Regions from separate parts of the Homo sapiens genome. Here regions 1, 2 and 4 are each linked to region 3. The links are contacts of gene promoters, found by promoter capture Hi-C in blood cells and fetal thymus (Javierre and others, 2016). All regions are on one chromosome and are shown on one strand. Each heading gives the region's core, a stretch centred on a gene start or on the middle of the fragment in contact. The rest is flanking DNA. Distances are from core to core; before and after follow the strand shown. Region 1 overlaps LOC124904498 (a long non-coding RNA gene). Region 2 has its middle 66 kb from the start of CD55. Region 3 holds the start of C4BPA (complement component 4 binding protein alpha). Region 4 has its middle 49 kb from the start of CD55.

Region 1 (5,825 bases), core at 2,439-4,938, 300 kb before region 3:
GATTGTAAAGTACTGGCATGGAGCATGCTATTTTAATTTGTACGCTCCAGGGCTCCTAATGGAACCCCAGCCTAATACAGTTATGAATGAATATCTGTTGAAAAGAACACAAGAAATGATATTAATTTTTTTCTTTTTTCTTTTTTTTTTTTTTGAGACGGAGTTTCACTCTGGTTGCCCAGGCTGGAGTGCAATGGTGCGATCTTGGCTCACTGCAACCTCCGCCACCCAGGTTCAAGCAATTCTCCTGCCTCAGCCTCCCGAGTAGCTGGGATTACAGGCGTGTGCCACCACTCCCAGCTAATTTTGTATTTTTAGTAGAGACAGAGTTTCTTCATGTTGGTCAGGCTGGTCTTTAACTCCCGACCTCAGGTGATCTGCCCGCCTCGGCCTCCCAAAGTGCTGGGATTACAGGCATGAGCCACTGCACCTGGCCAGTTTAATTTCTTTAAAATGAAACTTAAGACAAAATTTTACCTTTTTGCCTCAAGATAATTGTTAGATATTCAAGTGTGTAAATGATCTCTTGACTAGCAGCTATTTTTTATTTTCTCTGTTAATCTGATTAGAAATATAGCATTAGAAAAACTCAGTAAGAAGTTGTATCTCCTCGAAGAAGCAATGCTTTCATTAGCTAGTGTGGAAAATGATAAAGTGGTTCCAATCCTTTTCCATTTTATTTGTTATAATTAATTCAGATATACAAAGATGTATTGACACTGATATAATAAACATATAACAACCAGCAAAATAAACAAAACCTTATAAATGGGAGTAGGAATGGAGGAGAAATGAATGGTGGTACTCTCAGGTGGCTGTTATGGGACCACCCAGGGACAGTATCAGAATCTGAAGCCACAGTAGAGTGGGATGCAGGGGCAGGAAGACCCTTCTGTGAGAAGGAGGTGGGGGCTGGTGAGTGCCCTAAAACCTGTTCCTGCTTGCTTATGGCTCCAGAAGGAGTGGGTATCTCCCAGAGGGCTCATGTAGTGTGGGACTGAAAGAGTCTCTGGTTGGCCTCATAGTTGGAAACTTCAGGAGCAGTTGGAAGCCCTTCATAACTCCTTGCTTTAAGAAAATCCCTAGATACCCCTAGCTGGAAATTTATGCAATTGGATTGTCCCAGATTTCCCTGAAGAAGATGGGACTTCTTGGGGTCTTCTGCAAAGGAATAAATCATTTGGAAACCATGGCACTCTGGATATTGTTTTTGAGAGTTTTTGTAAAAGTGTGGAGGGACAAAAATGTGGGTGTAGGAGAGCATGACATTAACTTAGGGAACACAGCAGGGAAACAACTGATCCGGGTGCCTGATTCCTCTATTGGGCTCTTAGGACAACCTCTCTCCAAAAGGATCCAGGATCACTGGAGGGACAAGTAGCAAGGGGTGAGGGCAGGTTTTGGGAGCGAGATGGCCTTAGCACTGAGCAGGGCAGCCTTGATGGGCTTTGTTGGCTAATTGAGGACAGAGAGCAACGTTCTATCCATAGGCAACTCTTCTTTCAGACAGGGAGCCCAGAAGAGTACCTCAAAGGAAAAAACTTGAATTGTATATCAGAAAAAAACCTGAAAGAACCCAAATATCTATTTCCATGAAACTTTAAAATCTAGATTAAAGTTTACTAAGAAAAAGAAAAAGGAAGACCAGCAATGATAATTGTGATTCTCAAGAGGCAGAAAAAAACACCTCTGAAGTTGAGTGTTTATCCATTTCACTCTTGAGAAAACAAAGATTAACTATGTTAAATGACACGTTAAATGTAAGGGAAATGTGGGATCCACTCTTGGAAGAGCTTTTAACAAGCTTGCATCAGTTATCTTCACAGCAGGTTCTTCTGCAATGATTGCTCAATAGAATTGATTCATTTCACTACCAGGAACTATGAAGGAAAGGTCAGCAACTCATTTCCAGTTCTTGCTTAAAGTATAGTCATGTTAGCAGACAGCTTTGAGATTCTCTACTTTAAGTTCTTAAATTCTCAAGAGAGGGAATTAAGGTCCTGAGTGGTAAATGACCCACCCAGGATCATATCTGCCAATGACAGCTGGGGCTGGAATCTGATTTCCTGACACTCAACCTAATGTCTTTTCTAAGTACAACTCAAAATTTCTTGTGATTTGGAGAATATGCTAAGCATTGGCCTATCTGTGAAATATGATTAAGATAATATTGACCTCAGGTTAGGAAATCACTTGTCCAGAGGTAATAAAACCTTTTCAGGGGCAGGAAAAGATGTGCACCAGCCCACATTTGTTTATTGCCTGTGATGGGAAGGGAAGATACTCAATGTTTCCAAAGTCAATTTTAGGCCTTGTATACATCCTAAAAGAAACATTTGCGATTAGTTTTGAGTATGCCTGGTTAGATTATTAGGACCACAAGTAATTCTAGTCCTCTTCTGTTTTCTGTAGTGGCAGAAAAGAAAGAGAGCAAGTATGAGATTAGCTCTTTGGGTTTTGCTTCTTCTTTTTTTCTTTTTCTTCTTCTTCTTCTTCTTCTTCTTCTTCTTCTTCTTCTTCTTCTTCTTCTTCTTCTTCTTCTTCTTCTTCTTATTATTATTATTATTATTCTAGAGACAGGGTCTCACTCTATTGCCCAGGCTGGAGTACAGTGGCACAACTCACTTTAACCTCAAACTCCTGGGCTCAAGCAATCCTCCTACCTAAGCCTCCCCAGTAGCTGGGACCTCATATGCGCACTACCATGCCTGGCTAATTAAAAAAAAAAAGAAGGAAAGAAAGAAAAAGAAAAAGAAAAAACTTCTTGTGGTGGGGCGGCGGCGGAGGGGGTTGGGTCTTTCTATGTTGTCCAGGCTGGTCTTGAATTCCCCTCCTCAAGGAATTCTCCCACCTTGGTTTCCCAAAGTGCTGGGATTACAGGCATGAGCCACTATGCCTGGCCTGCTTCTGATACTTGTAAAGATGTTCATGGATTGGGTGGGGAGGGGGTGGTCAGGAGGCAGAAATTAGGAGAAATTGAGGTTGCAATTCAGCTTCCCTTCTGCATAGAGCATATGGTCGAAATCTGTTTTTCTACAAAGACATATAACAAGTACTTAAAGGTTCCACTGAAATTAAAGACTGGAAGGCGACTTGTGCAGATGTCATGAAACAGGAGCAAAAAAATGTGACTCCGTTTTTATTTCCCTTTCCCATTCCTGTGGTTCTGTCGTTTTATGCAAGTCAGAATCCTTTTGATGGGAATAGAGTGAAATGGGAAAGGGAAGTGGCGGAGAAGGGGAAACAAAAACTTCAAGGGAAAGAATCTGACATTACTGTTCTTTATAGCAGACTCCAGCCCCAACATACACACTTCTTACGTACAGCGCCTTATACACACAACCAACACATACAGGCATTCAGTTAGTTTGGGTTTGTTGTTGTTGTTTGCTACTAAGACATACGTTTGTTAAGTTATGTAGCTTTTTTCTTGTTGTTCATCTAATTTATGTAAGAAAACTTAGCAATAATTCACCTAGTAATGTTTTAAGAAGATGGCCACAGAGAGTGGGAAGATAGAAAAATATATATCTAATAGATTATATAGGCTTCAGATTTCTGGAGAATTTTCATTTTGAGGGTCAGCTAAATTCAGCCTGATATATATGCTTTTATGAAGGATTCTCTGATCTCCCCATAAGTGTCTCACATTCAGGGACCTCATTATCTTTATTATGTAATTTTACAATAAATTATGGTTCTATTGGACTTAAGCATTTATACAAACATTAGCTCCCTTAATCATCATAGTTGTAAATGGGGCAAATCTTACAAAGAACATTGAACTTGGAATCAAGAAATCTAATATAAATTTCTAGCTCTGCCATTTGTCAGTTTATTGAGTTTGGATGAGTTATAAGATCTCTTTGAACTACATCTTCCTCATCATAAGATAGAGACAGTAAACACTTTCTCTATCCCCCTCAGGGGGTGGTGGGAAGGATTACATGAGACAATGTATATAAATGCAGAAAGTATTATAGGTTTGTGAAGTGTTTATTGACATTGTTACAGATGACAGAATGAAGGCTCAAAAGGTTCAGTTAGTAAATGGAGAGTCATCACAAAGGTATATAAATGTTATACCTGGGACTTCATATTTAAAAAGGTCTGAGGGCTATAAATAAGTGTGGATAAGAAGTCTTGGCTCTGAAGTTCAGGAAGAACAGATAAGAGGCCTATGTAGCTAACTAATCCATAAATAAGGGCCACTAGTTTTTTTAATATATATTTAAACTTTTGAATTTTAGTTAATGTTTGAAAAGACTTTGTGAATACCTCAAAAACTTGATGTTACTAAATTTGCAAGTAGGAATTTAAATGCAAGTTATCATCAGCAGAAAATATTATTTCATCCTGTATTAAAAGCAAGGCCAGGTGTGGTGGCTTGCACTTCGAATCCCAGCATTTTGGGAGCCCGAGGCGGGCAGATCATCTGAAGTCAGGAGTTCGAGATCAGCCTGGCCAACATGGTGAAACCCTCGTCTCTACTAAAAAAAAAAAAAAAAAAAAAATACAAAAATTAGCTGGACATGGTGGCAGGTGCCTGTAATCCCAGCTACTCAGGAGGCTGAAGCAAGAGAATTGTTTGAACCCGGGAGGTGGAGGTTGCAGTGAGCCAAGATTGCACCATTGCACTACTATAGCCTGGGTGACAAGAGCAAAACTCTGTCTCAAAAAGAAAAAAAAAAGACAAATTGTGGTGACCCTGATGATGTGTACCCAATAAAAACCACAGAATTCCTATGTATTCAGCACCTCAGCTGTTTCAGTGTGACAATGGCCTCACTTACTGTGCAAATCCTTAGAGTACTTACCTACCACTAGATGGAGACATAGCCATAACTGATCAAAGTCCACTTAGCTGTTTAAAAGAAAAAAATACCTTACCCTCCAATAACCATATATGAAAAAGTACATATTCATTAGCAATACAATGTGATAACTTTCTTTGATATTTTGATACACTTGCTTGAATTTTTAGTATTTCAGAAATGTGAACTATTGTCAGCTGTGAAGGTTCCAAGTGCCTTCTAGATGGCGTATTTATACCTCAAATCTCTGGAACTGGGTAGCAGAAGACAGTAAGTTATAAAAGCAAAATAATGTAAAAAAGTATATATATAGTTTTTAGAATAGTGTGAAGAATGTATTTTCTATTAAGGAACATGAAAAGATCTAATAAACCTAGTAACCGAAAACTTCTATAAAGTACAACTTTCTGCCTCTGAATTCAGAGATTTTTTTTTCCAGAATAATCCTAGGTAGATGTATTTGCTTTATCAATTCTGTCTGAAAGTCTGTGACCCTATTCACTCTATAGATTCAAGGTTATCTTCAAACTAGGGACAATTTCCTTTATTATTTATATGTTTATTGTCTACAATGAAAATGTTTTATATATGTGATGATGTACTTATATATGTACTATGTTAGGTCATTCTTTCATTGCTATAAAGAAATACCTGAGACTGGGTAATTTATAAGAAAAGAGGTTTAATTGGTTTATGGTTCTGCAAGCTGTACAAGAAGCATAGCGTATCTGCTTCTGGAGAGGCCTCAGGAAGCTTCCAATCATGGTGGAAGGCAAAGGGGGAAAAGACATGTCACGTGGCAAAAGCAGGAGCAAAAGGGAGAGTGGTGGTGGGGTGGTGCCATGCACTTTTAAATGGACAGATCTAATGAAAACTCACTCACTATCATGAGAACACTACCAAGTGGATGGTGCTAAACCATGCCTGAGAAATCCGGCTCCATGATTCAGTCACCTCCCTCCAGGTCCCATCTCCAACATCAGAGATTATAATTCAATACGTGATTTGGGT
Region 2 (5,316 bases), core at 519-3,018, 280 kb before region 3:
TCTGGTAAATCTATCAGAATATTTCAGACTTTAATAGAAGACATTAAAACATTCTACTCATTTAAACAGCTATTCATTATATACTCATTACATGTAAGCAGCTACTCATTCTGTGCATATACTCATGTCTAAAACAGTGGCTCTCACACTTGGCTATATGTGAGTCACCTGTGACACATCATGAGTTTTTATTTTTCACCACTGGAAAATCTAACTCAGGTGATCTGGATCTATGACTAGTGTCAAAGTCAAATAAAACTAGAGATGAATCTCTAAATTTAAAATGTTTTATTTGGGAAGCAAGACTTATAATTTGGGGCATACACACAGACTGGGTGGTCCATGGTATGTCTGTAAAACAAAGAGGTTAGAGGTTTTATAAAAAAACAAAAACAAAAACGAGAAATGTTGCATATTATTTTGTAGGAAAGTTTATTGGCACTAGTAAAGTTTGGGGGAGCTGGCAACTTCTGATTGGTGAGTGACAGCCTTGGGTAAAACTAGTCTTAGAGTCACAGCAGGTTGTTTCAGTAATTAGAAAAACCAATTTCAGGTTACAGAAGGCAGTTTCAGCAACCAGGCTTGCATAGAATTGCATTCTTTGATCAATGTTATGTGTTCTGAATGCTTTTTCCCCCTGGCCAATTGACTGTTTTAGTTGGATATGATAAAAATGACCCAATTCATGTGACCAACTTTTATACCAGGCATCTGTATGTCTGAAGAAGTGACACTGATACACAGCCCAACTTAGGGAATCACTCCCTACCTTATAGAATCCTTTGCCTTGATCCAATAATTTTGTATATATAAAAGCATTAGGTGTAAAAGGAAATGATTAGCAGTTGATTCTATTTAGATTTATTAAATATAAAGCAAAACGGGTACATGACCTCTGTCTTTTTTATCCCAGGACATCTAAAGGAAATATGTTTTAAAGCTAGAAAAGTATGATAAAATAAATGAGAGAGGGTTAGAGATAAAACCTCCACAGAAGTTGCAAATGAGTTTTGAATGTTCTTATTGTGTTGGGTTCTTTGAAACATAATTTATAATGGAAAAATAATCTCAGTGATATTTTTAATGAGAACTATTTCTTACCTTTTAAAAATGTTTGATTTTTATAGATACATAATAGTTGTACATATTTATAGTGTACATGTCATATTTTGATACAAGAACACAATGTATAATTATCAAAGCAGGGTAATTGGTATATCCATCACCTCAAACATTTATCATTTCTTTGTGTTGGGAATATTCCAAATCCACTTCTCTAGTTATTTTTAAATATACGATATTTTCACTATTGTGCTACTGAACTCAGTATCTTATTCCTTCTATCTAACAGTATTTTTGTAGCCATGAACCAATCTCTCTTTATCATCCCTCCCCAATACCCTTCCCAGCCTCCAGTGACTACTCTCTACCTCCATTAGATCACTTTTTTAACTTCCATATATGAGCAACAACATGCAATATTTTTCTTCCTGTCCCTGGTTTATTTAACACAATGACCTCCATTACCATCCATGTTGTTGCAAGTGACAGGATGTCATTCATTTTTATGGATGAATAATATTCTATTGTGTATGTGTGCCATATTTTCTTCATCCATTCATCTGTTGATGGGCACTTATGTTGATTCTTTATCTTGGCTATTGTGAATAGTGCTGCAATAAACATAGGAGTGCAGGTATCTGTTTGATATACTGATTTTCTTTCTTTTGAATATATACCCAGCAGTGGGATTGCTGGATCATATGGTAGTTCTGTTTTTTATTTTTTTCCATGCTGAAACTCCATACTGATTTCCATAGTGGCTGTACTAACTTACATTCTCACCAACAGTGTATCAGCATTCCTTTCTCTGCATCCTCGCCAGCATTCATTGTTTTTTGTCTTTTCAATGAAAGCCATTTTAACTGGGGTAACTCATTGTGGTTTTGATTGCATTTCCATGATAATTAGTGATGTTGAGCATTTTTTCAGATATCTGTTGACCATTCATATGTCTTCCCTTGAGAAGTGACTATTCAGATCTCTTGCCCATTTTTAAATCCAGTTATTTGGTTCTTGCTATTGAGTTATTAGAGATCCTTATATATTCTGGTTATTAATCTTTTGTCATTGGAATAGTTTACAAATATTTTCTCCCATTCCGTGGGTTGTCTCTTCATTTTGTTGACTGTTTCCTTTGCTGTGTAGTTTTTTAGCTGTATATGATCCCATTTGTCCACTTCTGCTTTCATTGCCTGTGCTTTTGAGCTCTTACTCAAGAAATCTTTGCCTCAATTAATTTCCTCAACGCTTTCTTCTAGTAGTTTTACGGCTTCAGGTCTTAGATTTAAGTCTTTAATCTATTTTGATTTGATTTTTGTATATGTGGAGAGATAGGGATCTAGTTTCATTCTTTTGCATATGGATATCCAGTTTTTCTAGCATCATTTGCTGAAAAGACTGTCTTTTCCACGACGTATGTTCTTTGCACCTTTTTTTGAAAATGAATTGACTGTAAATGCAAGGATTTATTTCTGGGTTCTCTATTCTGTTCCATTGGCCTACATGTCTGATTTTATGCCAATACTATGCTGTTTTGGTTACTATAGCTCTGAAATATAATTTGAAGCCAACTAATGGGATGCCTCCAGCTTTGTTCTTTTTGCTCAGGATAGCTTTGTCTATTCTGGGCCTTTTGTGATTTCATATAAATTGTAGGATTGTATTTCCTATTTCTGTGAAGTATATCATTGATATTTTGATAGGAATGGCACTGAATCTGTAGATTGCTTTGTGTAGTATGGATATTTTAACAATATTGATTCTTCTAATGCATGAACATGGAATATGTTTTCATATGTTTATGTCTTTTTCAATTTCTTGAATCAGAGTTTTATAGTTTTCATTGTAAAGACCTTTCACTTCTTTAAGTAGATTTCTATGGGTTTTTTTGTAGCTATGGTAAATAGAATTGCTTTCTCTCTTTTTTTAGCTTGTTTGCTGTTGGCATATAGAAATGCTACTGATTTTTTGTGAATTGATTTTCTATCCTGTAACTTTACTGCATTTGTTTATTAGTTCAAATAGTTTTTTAGTGAAGGTTTTAGGCTTTTTTAACTATAAGATAATATCCAAGTAAGAATAAGTCGATTTCTTTCTTTCTATTTAACTGCCATTTCTTTTTCTTGCCTAATTGCTCTAAGACTTACATTACAATGTTGAATAAAAGTGGTAAAAGTGGAAATCTTTGTCTTGTTCCACACCTTAGTGGAAAGGCTTTCAGTGTTTCCCCATTCAGTATAATACTAGTTACAGGTTTGTCACATACAGCCTTTTTTGTGTTGAGGTATTTGCCTTCTATACCCACTTTGTTGAGAGTTTTATTTTTTTATCATGAAAGAATGTTAAATTTTATTGAATACTTTTTTGGTGTCTATTGAAATCATTTTTTCCTTCATTCTGTTGATGTGATGTATTACATTTACTGATTTGCACATATTGAACCATCCTTGCTTTTCTGGAATGAATCCCACTTGATTATGATGAATAATCTATAATGTGTTGTTGAATTCAGTTTGCGAGTATTTTATTGACAGTTTTCCCATCTATGTTCATCAGAGATATTGGCATTTGGTTTTGTTTTTTCATTGTTGTGTATCTTTGTCTGTTTTTGATATCTGGGTAATGCTGGCCTTATAAAATGAATTTGGATGTATTTTCTTCTCTGTAATTTTTTGAAATAGTTTGAGTAGGATTGATATTAGTTCTTCTTGAAGTGTTTAGTGGAATTTAGCAGGAAAGCCATAAGGTTCTGGGATTTTCTTTGATGGAACACTTTTTATTACTGTGTCTATCTTATTACTTGTTATTGGCCTATTTAGGTGGTCTATCTCTTCATGATTCAATCTCAGTAGGTATATATGTCTAGGAACTTATCCATTTCTTTCAGGTTTTCCAATTCATTTGCATACAGTTGCTCATAATACCTTCTAATGATCTTTTGAATTTTTGTGGTATTGGTTGTAATGTCTCCTTTTTCATCTCTTCTTTTATTTATCTTACCTTTTAAAGTAGAATATTTCTAAATGCTAGGAAGAAATTAAAAAAAATTTCTCAATAGCTCTATGAGCACCTCTTTGAATCCTTATAAATACTTTTGACTTTGTCCTTGAGATTAATACTACCAGCAGAAGAAGAGGCTAAGTCTGATAAATTAATGTAAAGGAAGATATGATAATCTGAAAAATAAAAAAGAAATATTTATCAGGAAACCAACAACAGAATTCAGCATCTCACATAAAAATAAAGTAACAGTTAAACATCTACTCATAACTCATGAAACTAGCTTATAAAATAGTGAGTTAATTCTTACCACCATAAGAATTTCACTGATCCTTTAATAATTTCAGCTGTAAAACTAACAATACGCAGTCAACAACAAAATAGGATAAATATCACAAATATCTATATGAAGCAAAATATATAATTATAACAGTAAGAAGTGATATGTAATTGAATAGAAAATATTGAATAGAAAATAGTGTGTGTGGGGTGTGCGAGTTTGCTTTTGATACAGCATAAATTAAGAAACACAGAGAGAAGAGATGTGACAGGTAAGATGTGGGGAAGAGAGGCAGGTCATAAAGGGCCTCTAAGATAGAAACCTGTACAATACAACTAGCATCTTGTGAGAAGGCGCTTAGGAGGGAAATAACTGAGAATAGACTGATGTGGCTAAAGCTTATGGAGCAAGAGTGAGGCAGCTTAAGATAAATCTTGAGTGAGAGATGGGGCCAGAACATGCAAGATTTGACAGGTTGTGTACAGACAAAGAAATATCTTTATGCTATCACCATTCACTTAATAATCCATTGAATATTCTGACCTTAAAGTTTCTTGACTCTTTACCTCTTGTGATCTGAAACATCCTACATCTACTACCTCTTAAACTTCCAGTTCATTTATTAAAACACTTTCCACCTCAGAATTTTTTTAATCTAAATAAGACCTTTAGATTGATTCCAGCACTTTACTCACCATCCATTAGTCCCTTCTACACACTCTTCTTTCTCAGTTTTGATGGTGTAGTACATCATAATCACTCTTGCAAATTTGCTTGTATTCGTTGTCTCAATTTCTCTCTAGCATACATATGCTCCAACCCTGGATGAATTCAATCATCTACTCTTTCTACGTATGTGGACTTTAGCAGCTGAAAATTGCTGGAAAAAAAATCCACACATCTGGGTTGATTGTTTTCACTACATATTAATGTTTAGAAACCTTAAACTGTATTCAGCATTTCCAACGCGTCCT
Region 3 (5,262 bases), core at 2,327-4,826:
TCCTATAATTCCCTTCCCCTCACCCTAGACCACTGCAAAAGCCTTCAAACATTTATAAGCCAGCTTCCATGTTGATGCCATTATGTCCCTAAAAAGCAATTTATGTGTTGTTACTCTGCTTAAAAACATTCATGGTTCCCAGTTTCCATAGGTTCCCCTATCTGTCCCAGTTTTCCCATCATTTCTCACTTAGAACACCATGCTTCAGTCTCAAGGAGGCACTTACCCTTCCCCAAAAACATTCTGGATTTCTTTTTTGAGACAGGGTCTCACTCTGTGTCACCCAAGCTGGAGTGAAGTGGTGCAATCACAGCTCACTGCAGCCTCAACCTCCTGGACTCGAATGATGCTCCCACCTCAGTCTCCCCAGTAGCTGGGACCACAGGAGCGTGCCATCACACCCAGCTAATTTTTTAATTTTTTGTAAAGACAGGGGTCTCACTATGTTGCTCAAGCTGGTCTTGAACTCCTGGCCTCAAGTGAACCTCCCACCTCGGCCTCCCAAAGTGCTGGAATTATAGGCGTGAGCCACCATACAAAGCCAGGATTTTTTTAAAAAACACCTGCAAGCATTTGCAGTTAATGTCTCCCATGCATTAATGCTCTTACCTCCAACTTCTCCTTTACTCACTATTCCTTTACTCACTATTCAGATCAAATGTCACCTCCTTGGTGAAGCATTGCCTGACTTCATCATGAAATGCCAGTGTTTTCTGTTCTTCTAGTACTTGGCTAATACCTTAATTGTAGCATTGTTTTGTATCCTAACTATCTATTTGCTTTTGCCTCCCGAAATACATTGTGAATTCCTTGAAGACAAGGAAGGTGTTTATTCAACTTTCCATCTCTAACGTGGTATTGTAATTGGTCTATATAACCCCGTGACTCCTTTGTTAAAAAAAAACATTTGCAAGGTCAGTTTTATCACGCAGATTATCATCTGCTTTTTTGCAGATGCAGAGGAAGAGAAAAGAGTTCCTCCTTATTTCGCAGAGATTTCTTTCACTGCCTTTAGAAAGACCTAATTTGAGCACCAGAATTTAACTAGCTTAAAACTTACACAGAGGAGGCCGGGTGCAGTGGCTCACGCCTGTAATCCCAGCACTTTGGGAGGCCAAGGCAGGCAGATCACGAGGTCAGGAAGTCGAGACCATCCTGGCTAACACGGTGAAACCCTGTCTCTACTAAAAAGACAAAAAATTAGCTGGGCGTGGTGGCGGGCGCCTGTAGTCCCAGCTACTCGGGAGGCTGAGGCAGGAGAATGGCCTGTGAACCCGGGAGACGGAGCTTGCAGTGAGCAGAGATTGCACCACCGCACTCCAGTCTGGGCAACAAAGCGAGACTCCGTTTCAAAAAAAAAAAAAAAACTTACACGGAGGAAGGAATAAGACAGAATAAACAATAATAAATCTAAAAGGAATGAAAGTCAATTTAATTTTATCTTTAGAATGAGAATGACTGTCTCACTGAGGACCAAATGAAATAATGTGTGTGAAATGCTTTGTCAGTTTTGAAGAGAGATAATACAGTGACTAGACTTCCCTAACAAACCATCAGGATGCATCCTAACTCTTCTCCAACTACGGCATTTGCAGTTCACCATAACTACTCCTGGTGGTCCCTCAGCAGAAACCAGCTGGCCACAGAGTATGGGAATGGAGGCTAGAACTTGCGAGCTGAGAAGACACAAGTTGGAGTTCCAGCAATACCACAGTCTAAGTCTGTGATCTTGAAGAAGCTATATCAGCTTCTTGGATATCAGTTCCCTCCATCTCTAAAATAATGACATTAAACCTAGATGAACAAATTCTGCAATTCTGTAACTGCTCACTGAAAAGCTGAGACTACTCTAGCCAACTTTCATATTTCAAGGACTTCACCTTTTAAATTCCTGCAGAAATGGAACCAACTCAAGAACTTTAGTCAGCATGGCGGGTCCCTTGTGAAAAATAATATCAGCACTTAGCAATGCAGTGCAATTTGAGAGTCACTGGAAAAATCTTTAGTCCTCAAATTTCTCCTTCCATGAGAAGTTACTTTTTAAGTTAATATTTATTTTGTCTAACTTCCCCCTTTTAAAATGCAGATACCTTGTGAAAGGATAGTATTTTTCTCCAGTCTCGGGCTGAGTGTCTTCTTCCTTATACCTGGGCTCTCAATTATATCACTTACAAACTCCAGAAAGAACTGGCTCCCACACTTTCCCCACCCTTCCTAGAATCTCTTTTTTTTTTCTTTTTTTTTTTTTTTTGAGGTGGAGTTTCACTCTTGTTGCCCAGACTAGAGTGCAATGGCACGATCTCAGCTCACCCCAACCTCTGCCTCCCTGGTTCAAATGATCCTCCTGCCTCAGCCTCCCAAGTAGCTGGGATTACAGACATGTGCCACCATGCCTGGCTAATTTTGTAATTTTAGTAGAGACAGGGGTTCTCCATGTTGGTCAGGCTGGTCTCGAACTCCCGACCTCAGGTGATCCGCCAGCCTCGGCCTCCCAAAGTGCTGGGATTACAGGAGTGAGCCACCGTACCTGGCCAAATCTCTTTATTTTTCTATCAGCCCCTTTATTCTGTGCTCATACTACATTCAAACATATCTCTAAGCTTAATGCCAACCTTCTTTGATGCTTCTGCCTCTTCTGTAGTCTACTTTTTATTCTTTTGGTGTTACCATATTTAGAGATAGAATAGGAATCAGCAAAGAGACAAGTGGTTGAAGAATTAAAATGAGGACCAGAATGGTACTGTATCCTGGCCAACCAAGGAAGAAGAGAATTTCAAGAAGGAAGGGTTATCAGCATCGTCAAATTCAGAAAGTAAAGAAGATGAGGACGACTAAGACTGCTAGCTTCAGAAACCAACTGGAGGCTGGCCAGTGTCCTCCTTATTACCAAATCTAAACATCTTTGCTGTCAGTGGTGGAGGAGATTTGGAGTGGTTAATCAAATCTCAAAATAGAAATGGCCCCAGTTTTCAGAATGTAGACTAAGAAAAGCAAGCTTCCTGTGAACCCTTTGAAAAGTCTGATTGACCCCTTGCCTCAACTCTGATGTGGGAAGGTGGTGAAAGATCAACAAACCAACACATCTGTCTTTTAGATACAGTAACAAGAGCAACACCTTACACCTCTTCTTCTTTAGCTTATTTTATTAGAATGCAATATTATTCCTCCATTTATAATTTTTAAAACTTGAGGTTCAGATAGGGTTTAAAGTACGTCTCAAGTCTTACATCCCCCTAATACAGTGCTCCTGAAAAGATTTCTGCTGAAAACACCTCCAAGCTTTTGTCTCTGTTTTATCCTTCTAATCCTGCACTCCTTAAAGGGCCAAACCACCAGCCTTTCCTCCAAGCTTCCCCAAGGGTTTAGTAGTCCACCGACCTTTGGTAGTTGAGGAAGAGCAGAAGACTCTATGATGATATCTGGGATAGTTTCTCAAAGAAGAAAACTGCCTTGATCTATGTAGTCCTGGTTCCTCCCCAGATCAGAGTTTATCATAATACCCTGAAGTTGACTGGTAATTGCTCCACCAAAGAGTCCCTGAATTTCAGCCATGTGGTTGGCTGGTCAAGGACGGTTGATGGAAATAGATGGGCAGAAACTTTTGACGGGCCCAATGAATGATTAACAGCAGAAATAAAGCAGCACTGTTTACCTAAGCTCCTTCCTCTTTGCTAGTCCTCATTCTTCGTAACATGTCGCAATCGTTTATTTTCTCCTCTGCCAACCATTTCCCCTAAGTGGAAAGGTAATTTGAATTTGAAGCCAGAATTCTTTTTTCTTTTCATAAACACATAAGGGTTATGGCAAGACACAGTCCAGCTAGCCTGGAAACCTTGGATACTGCGAGGTTCAGAGAGCCTCCGCAAAAATGATCCACTTTCCATGACACTAGGTCCAGTATGCTTTCCTGGAGTTTGAAAACTGATATTCTTGCCCAGAGCTCGTCTCTATCCCACCCCAAGGAATTACAAAAGGTGGGGAATTTATCAAACATGCATTGGGTTTCCACTATGTGCTGAGTTATCTAGAACGTATTTGGAGTTCAGCAAATGTTAACTGCTACTACATGTCAGGCACCAGAGGGCCTCCAAAAATTGATCTATCCAGTGCGCTCAGAAGAACGCAATGAAGGACCGGCCATGTTTCCTCTCGCATAGATCTAAAAAGACCACAAGCACTTACATAGTCCAATTAAGCTACTAATCCTCAAGGTTAAGATTTGTGTGCTCAGAAGATTGCTATTAAAAGGCAATTCTTTCTGAGAACTTCACTTTTTCTGTAATAAATACTGAAAGTCCCAGAAGAGTTTCAGAAAAGGAACTAAACTACAACAGGTTGAGTTAATCAAGGAAGTTTCTACAGAAGATGTGAGATTTGGATAAAAGGTAGAAATTATTAGATAAAAGTGGTAAGGATATTAGATGTAAAGAAACCATGCGCTAGGTCACCAAGGTGAGACACTGATTTGACCAGAATGAAGATAGAGGAGGATTCCAGATTGCACAGTCTTGAGACTAAATTGGAAGAAATATCACCTTTAAAGCTGCTATTTCTTTAAAGTACCGTTTTCCAATGTATTGAAGTCCTTTCGTTTACTTTCCACAGTGACTCTTGCAGATTTTTCTCTCCAGGTCACCAAATTGTCACATTCCCTCTCAGCAGATGCTCTTACCTCCTACTTTACTAAAAATCATTCTACCTTAGCTTCATCAATGTCAAATTTTCCCTCCTATTCACTCCTCATTCCGAGGAGAATTGTTTCTTCTTTTCCTGCCTCATTTTCAATGCATCTCTCATCCTGAAATGTCCCTTCAATTTTGCCAATACCTCAAATTCCACCTTTCTTCTTTAGTGTGATGCTGAACTTCTCAAAGGTGTGACTTGTTCTACCTGCCTGTTCTTTCTCATTCATCACTCCACCTGTTGCTTTCCCATCTGGCTTCTACCACTCTTCTACTGACATGTCTCTCTGAGGCACGCCCTTAGGTCCAAGTCCAAAATATCTTTAATTCATTTCTTAGGATCTGTCTGCAGCCTTTGTCACTGCTGATCATTTCCTTTCTGAAACTCTCTTCTCCTTTGGCTTCCATGACACTAAACTTACCTGATTCCCTTAACTTAACTAATTTCTCTTTCTTAGTTACTGTTACCTTCTCTTCCTCCTTCTCATTCCTAAATATAGATATATCTCAGGCTCTTCTTTTTTTAAAAAAATTATCTTCGCAATTTTAATGATCTTGCCTTCTGTCACAGCTTTAACTA
Region 4 (6,038 bases), core at 1,336-3,835, 270 kb before region 3:
TGGGATGCATCTCTTTACAGCTGTCAGCCCATAGGAGTGGCATTGTAGTTGTGTAAAACCTTCACTTGACATGTTCTGGTAAGATCAAGAAATCAAGAAAGCACCAGTATCAAAATGTCTTAGTGTAGAGGAAAGCCAACATATTGTCTCTAGATAATATAAGGTTGTTTTTCCCTGTCCTGGGTTTCTTTCTCTCTACAAAATCTGTTTGATTTTGGTAGAGATGTATTGAAATCTTCAGTCATAATTATATTTTATTAGGCTTATCAAATTCCTAATGACTTTGCTTTATGTATTTAGCTAGTTGCATGTAGTTTGATATATACATATTTATGAATGTTACCTTTTTCATAAATCTTTGCCTTTTATAATTGGTCTGACCTTACATTTTATCTTTGCTTATCTTTTATTTTCCACCCTTCTTTACTATTTCACCATGTCCCTCATACACAGCTTTTGTTTTCTAATCTTTAAGCTTTAGTGAAAGAAAACAATCCATTTACATTTTATTTAATGTCTGTATCTTAGTTTCTTCATTATCTATTTTAAATCATTATTTCCTTTTTTTCTTATTTTTGTTGTTTTTTTTTTCAGGTTCATCTCATTCTTTCAAAGATTAGTTGTGTGTTTCCATTTCATTCATTGTTAACAACATGTCTGCTCTCAAGAACAAGTATATATGAATCTATCCCTTTTCCCACACAGCTGTATTACCTCAACTTTCTTCCCTATACAAACTAGATGAGACCTCTAGAACACTTCTTCCTTTTGTTCTTTTTTTCTCTGCCTTTTTCAGGTGATGAGACTTTTTCAAATGCTTTTACTTTGCCCTTCTACAGATTTCCTTAAAGTATGCTTTACTTCCTCAAATTATGTTGTTCAGAAATAAATAAAACAAAATGAATTGAGGTCTGTAATGAGTTTGATGACACAATACTAACCCTTGACTGTTTCTCTTTTTTATTTTGAGAAAAAAATTTAGAATACATAAAAGTATATATAAATATAACAACTGCCCATGTACCCATCATTCAAATTATATAAATTAACATTTTTAGTCAAATGCTTCATATCTTTTACTTTGTAATACAAGAAATAAAACATTACACATAAAGCTGAAGTACTCACTGTCGCCTATTAATACATTTCTGTTTTCTTCTACTCCCCCATTTGTGTTCCTTCCTATGATGAGGTGCACACATTGTGGTTAGGAATTCCATTTTTAAATAATGGTGGTCTAAGTTATTGGGACTAATAGCTCTCTAAAAAGCAATCAAGGTAACTAGATTTAAAAAAATTACAATCTTAAAACTACAGGTTAGCCAACAAAAAATGGACTCAATGGAGTGGGGAAGTATATTCCATCTACTATAGTGGAAGGCACTGAAAAGTCACCTGGCAAAAGATGTCCAGTTATAATTCTGTAAAAGGGAAGGAGTAAAGAATTAGAAACATTAATACAATCTACCAAAGAATGAAACAAACTAAAAAGTCTACTTAAAAAACTTGCAAATCACAACTGTAAAATGTGAAGAAATGCAATGCCATGAGAGAGAGCCAACAAAATCAACTTTGGAAAGGAACTGACTCTAAGTGGAATTTCTCTTAATAGAAAAATGTGATAAACATATCAAAACAAATCTGAGAAATAAAGGATCAATATCCATTAGTAACTAAATAGGACCTGTAAAACAAAAATAGGCAGGTCTGAAGTACAAACTGTCAGATATAAAGCAATTTGAAATCTTAGAAATGAATAATGTGGCAATTTCAAATTACAATCTAAATTAATAAACACTACTTCTGCAGTGCTACTTTCAGTAAGTGTGGTCTGCTTCCCCAGATTGCTATATTCTTCTCTGTAAGTCTCATTATACTCAATACTGTGTGCCTCTAGTGTGGTAGCTCTGCCCCAGGGAGGATCTTCCTGGTTCATTTTCCTCCATGGCCCTTTCAAAAGTGAATGTTGAGAGAGAATCAGTGGACTGGAAGGCACTGATGAACTTAGTGGATTAACTTAATTGATTAGCTAAGGGGAAGGAAACTGAAATAAAAATAGTTAAGAGTTGTGGAATATTGGATTAGCCAAATTTCAGTGAAGAAAACAAAAATCCCTCTTAGTTTCTTTGAAAGAAAGCTGGAAATGTTAGAGAACTGCCTCTGAACAACTGACTTCAGGATCACACCATCGAAATCATGGAGTTCAGGAATCTGCTGCTGCTACAATCGCTCTCCTACTGAGAGGTGACAACGTGCTAGCAGCCCTCGTTCACTCTCGGCGCCTCCTCGGCCTCCGTGTCCGCTCTGGCCATGCTTGAGGAGCCCTTCAGCCCGCCGCTGCACTGTGGGAGCCCCTCTCTGGGCTGGCCGGGCCGGAGCCGGCTCCCTCTGCTTGCCGGGAGGTGTGGAGGGAGAGGCGCAGGCAGGAACCGGGGCTGCATGCCGCGCTCGCAGACCAGCGCCAGTTCTGGGTGGGTAAGGCACAGCGGGCCCCACACTCAGAGCAGCCGGCTGGTGCTGCCAGCCCCGGGCAGTGAGGGGCTTAGCACCCGGGCCAGCAGCTGTGGAGGGTGCGCCAGGTCCCTCAGCACTGCCGGCCCGCCCGTGCCGCGCTCAAATTCTCCCAGGCCTCAGCCACCTCCCTGCGGGGCAGGGCTCGGGACCTGCAGCCCACCATGCCTGAGCCCCCCTACCGGTGGGCTCCTGCGTGGCCTGAGCCTCCCAGATGGGTGCTGCCCCCTGCTCTGCCACGCCTGGTCCCATCGACTGCCCAAGGGCTGAGGAGTGCCCACGCCGCAGCGTGCGACTGGCGGGCAGCTCTGCCCAGGGCAGGATCCACTAGGAGAAGCCAGCTGGTCTCCTGAGTCAGGTGGGGATTTGGAGAATTTTAATGTCTAGCTAAAGGTTTGTAAATGCACCAATCAGCGTTCTGTGTCTAGCTCAAGGTGTGTAAAGACACCAATCAGTGCTCTGTGTCTACCTATTCTAGTGGGGACTTGGAGAACTTTTGTGTCTAGCTAAAGGATTGTAAATGCACCAATCAGTACTCTGTCTAGCTCCAGGTTTCTAAACGCACCAATCAGCACCCTGTCAAAACAGAACAATCAGCTCTCCGTAAAATGGGCCAATCAGCTCTCTGTAAAATGGAACAATCATCTCTCTGTACAATGGACCAATCGCCAGGATGTGGGTGGGGCCAGATAAGGGAATAAAAGCAGGCTGCCCCCGCCAGCAGCGGCAACCCAGTTGGGTCCTTTTCCACTGTGTGGTAGCTTTGTTCTTTTGCTCTTCACAATAAATCTTGCTGCTGCTCACCCTTTGGGTCCGCACCACCCTTATGAGCTGTAACACTCACCACGAAGGTCTGCAGCTTCATTCCTGAGGCCAGCGAGACCACGAACCCACTGAAGGGAACAAACAACTCCAGACGCGCCGCCTTTAAGAGCTGTAACACTCACTGTGAAGGTCTGCAGCTTCAATCCTGAAGTCAGCGAGACCACAAACCCACCAGTAAGAAGAAACTCCAGACACATCATCTTTAAGAACTGTAACACTCACCGTGAGGGTCTGCGGCTTCATTCTTGAAGTCAGCGAGACCAAGAACCCAGCAATTCCAGACACACTACCGCAGATTTTTATTCCCATAAAGTTGATGACTAGATAAATGAAAGTAGAAAAAGACCACCACAATCACCTGTGGCTGATCTTATCTTGCTGGAAATAGAAGCAGCAGTAGGAAGTTGACCTACACCTTAATTCTGACCTCCAAATAAATATCACATAACTGCTTGTTACGTTGTAGATCAAATTTTCTCCTAGACTCCTAGCTTCAATGGAGTCTGTGTAATATAGTGTTTAGTCTTCTGAAATCTTTTAAAAAAATTATAAGGGAGGTTTAAGAGAGGCAATTCATTTTAATATAAATTTGGAATCACTTTTTAAAAATATCTATTGGAGTTATAAATTGATGTGTGGAGAATTGCTATCTTAACAATATTGAGTGTTCCAACCCACGAAAATGATGTTAATAACATTTACTTAAGTCTGTAATTTCTCTCAGCAAAATTTATAGTTTTTTTTTTTTAAATAGAATTCTTCCGTTTTTAAAAAATGTTACTTTAAGTTCTGGGATACATGTGCAGAACATGCAGGTTTGTTACATAGGCATATATGTGCCATGGTGGTTTGCTGCAGCCATCAACCTGTCATCTAGGTTTTAAGCCCCGCATGTATTAGGTATTTGTCCTAATGCTCTCCTTCTCCTTGCCCCCCACTCCCTGACAGGCCCTGGTGTGTGATGTTCCCCTCCCTGTGTCCATCTGTTCTCATTGTTGAACTCCCACTTATGAGTGAAAACATGTGGTGTTTGGTTTTCCGTTCCTGTGTTAGTTTGCTGAGAATGTTGGCTTCCAGCTTCATTCATGTCCCTGCAAAGGACATGATCTCATTCTTTTTTTATGAAAAATGGGATCTAATTAAACTAAAGCGCTTCTGCACAGGAAAAGAAACTATCTTCCATGTTTTGTAAAATTTATCTCTAACATGTTTTTGGATGCTGTTGGAAATGAAGTTGTTTTCGAAATTCATTTTCTAATTGTTCATTGCTAATACATAAAATTATAATTTTTATACATTAACATTGTATTCTGACCTCAATAAATTCACTTATTAGTTCTAGTAGACTCTTTAAGCTTTCTATGTATTAATACTTGGTCATGTCATCTACCAATAAAAACGACTTTCTTCTCCCTTTCCAATTTATTGACTGTCATTTCTTTTTCTTGCCTTACTGCACTGGCTAAAACTTCCAGTATAATGTTGAACAGAAATGGCAGAATAGATATCCCTGCCTTGTTCCTTATCTTAGGTAGAAAGCATTGAGGCTTTCAATATTGAGTACAGTGAAAGATGTAGGTTTTTGAAGATGCCCTTAATTAGATTAAGAGAAATGTTTCTTTTATTCTTAGTTTGCTGATAGATTTTTTGAAATCACAAATTAGTGTTGAACTTTACAAAAAGCTTTTCCTGCATTTATTGAAATGATTATATTTTCTTCTTTATTCTAATATGGTGAATTACATTGATTAATTTTTGGATGTCAAACCAACCTTTCACTCCCCAGATAAACCTCATTCCATCATGATGTATAGTAAGTATTCTTTTACATATACTAATTTGTTTTGTTAAAATTTTGTTAAGTATATTTGTGTCTATATTCATGAGGGATATTTGTCTGTAGTTTTTTAATATATTTGGCCTCATGAAATGAGTTTGGAAGTATTTTCTATTTTCTCAAAGAGTTTGTGTACAATTGGTTTTATTTCTTCCTTAAATGCTAGAGTTTACAAGTGAAGCCATTTAGGCATGAATTTTTCTTTTTGGAAAGATTTTTAATTAAAAATGCAATTTCTTGAATTAATAGGGCAATTCAAGTTTTATATTGCTTATTGGGTTAGTTTTGGTAATTTGTGTCTTTCAATGAATTGTTCATTTCATCCAGTGGTAGCTCTGCCCCAGGGAGGATCTTCCTGGTTCATTTTCCTCCATGGCCCTTTCAAAAGTGAATGTTGATCATAATCGTGATCCCCAGTTTATTGAATTTATTGGCATAAAGTTGCCTGCCATATTCTCATATTTTTCTTCCAATGATTATGCTCTGCAGTGAGTGATGTATTCTGTTGCATTACTAAAAGTTCATGGGTGGCAATTTCTGTCTTATCTCTTTATTCTTTACCCATCTAAATGGAAGTTTATCAATTTTATTTTTTTTAAAGACCCAGCTTTTGATTTCATTTTCACTATTATTTTTGTTTTCTATTTTAATTTTTACACTTACCTTTATTATTTCATTTCTTAATTTTTTAAATTTCTATTTCCCTTCTTCTACTTGATTTTCACTACCTTTCCACTCTGGAAGAGGTATTTTGTAGGATGACGGTCAAGTTGTCTTTTTTCGGATACTTCCTCATATTTTGATTCAGATTATGATTTTTGGCAACAATCACACAGAAATGACAGAGTTCTTTTCAATGTATCCT

The links. The method cuts DNA at HindIII sites, captures the fragments that hold promoters and counts their contacts. A CHiCAGO score of 5 or more calls a contact.
Region 1: a fragment that was not itself captured here is called in contact with the fragment with the promoter of C4BPA in region 3 in 17 of 17 cell types (naive CD8 T cells, total CD4 T cells, M2 macrophages and 14 more); the score reaches 16.0 in naive CD8 T cells.
Region 2: a contact is called between a fragment that was not itself captured here and the fragment with the promoter of C4BPA in region 3, in 14 of 17 cell types (naive CD4 T cells, total CD4 T cells, M2 macrophages and 11 more). The highest score is 10.5, in naive CD4 T cells.
Region 4: a fragment that was not itself captured here is called in contact with the fragment with the promoter of C4BPA in region 3 in 11 of 17 cell types (monocytes, neutrophils, M2 macrophages and 8 more); the score reaches 10.9 in monocytes.

The regions. Positions count from the first base shown.
Region 1 is chr1:207,404,111-207,409,935 of GRCh38, reverse strand. All of the region lies in intron 1 of LOC124904498 (a long non-coding RNA gene), which reads left to right. Among named protein-coding and RNA genes, the nearest start is that of CR2, 47 kb to the left of the region's middle. The HindIII fragment of the contact is 3,763 bases long and covers 1,807-5,569 here.
Region 2 is chr1:207,385,128-207,390,443 of GRCh38, reverse strand. No RefSeq gene overlaps it. Among named protein-coding and RNA genes, the nearest start is that of CD55, 66 kb to the right of the region's middle. The HindIII fragment of the contact is 5,948 bases long and covers 1-4,742 here.
Region 3 is chr1:207,102,547-207,107,808 of GRCh38, reverse strand. It overlaps C4BPA (complement component 4 binding protein alpha), which reads right to left and starts at 3,576. Exons shown (of 12, transcript NM_000715.4): 1 at 3,379-3,576. The HindIII fragment of the contact is 2,080 bases long and covers 3,352-5,262 here.
Region 4 is chr1:207,368,152-207,374,189 of GRCh38, reverse strand. No RefSeq gene overlaps it. Among named protein-coding and RNA genes, the nearest start is that of CD55, 49 kb to the right of the region's middle. The HindIII fragment of the contact is 4,216 bases long and covers 478-4,693 here.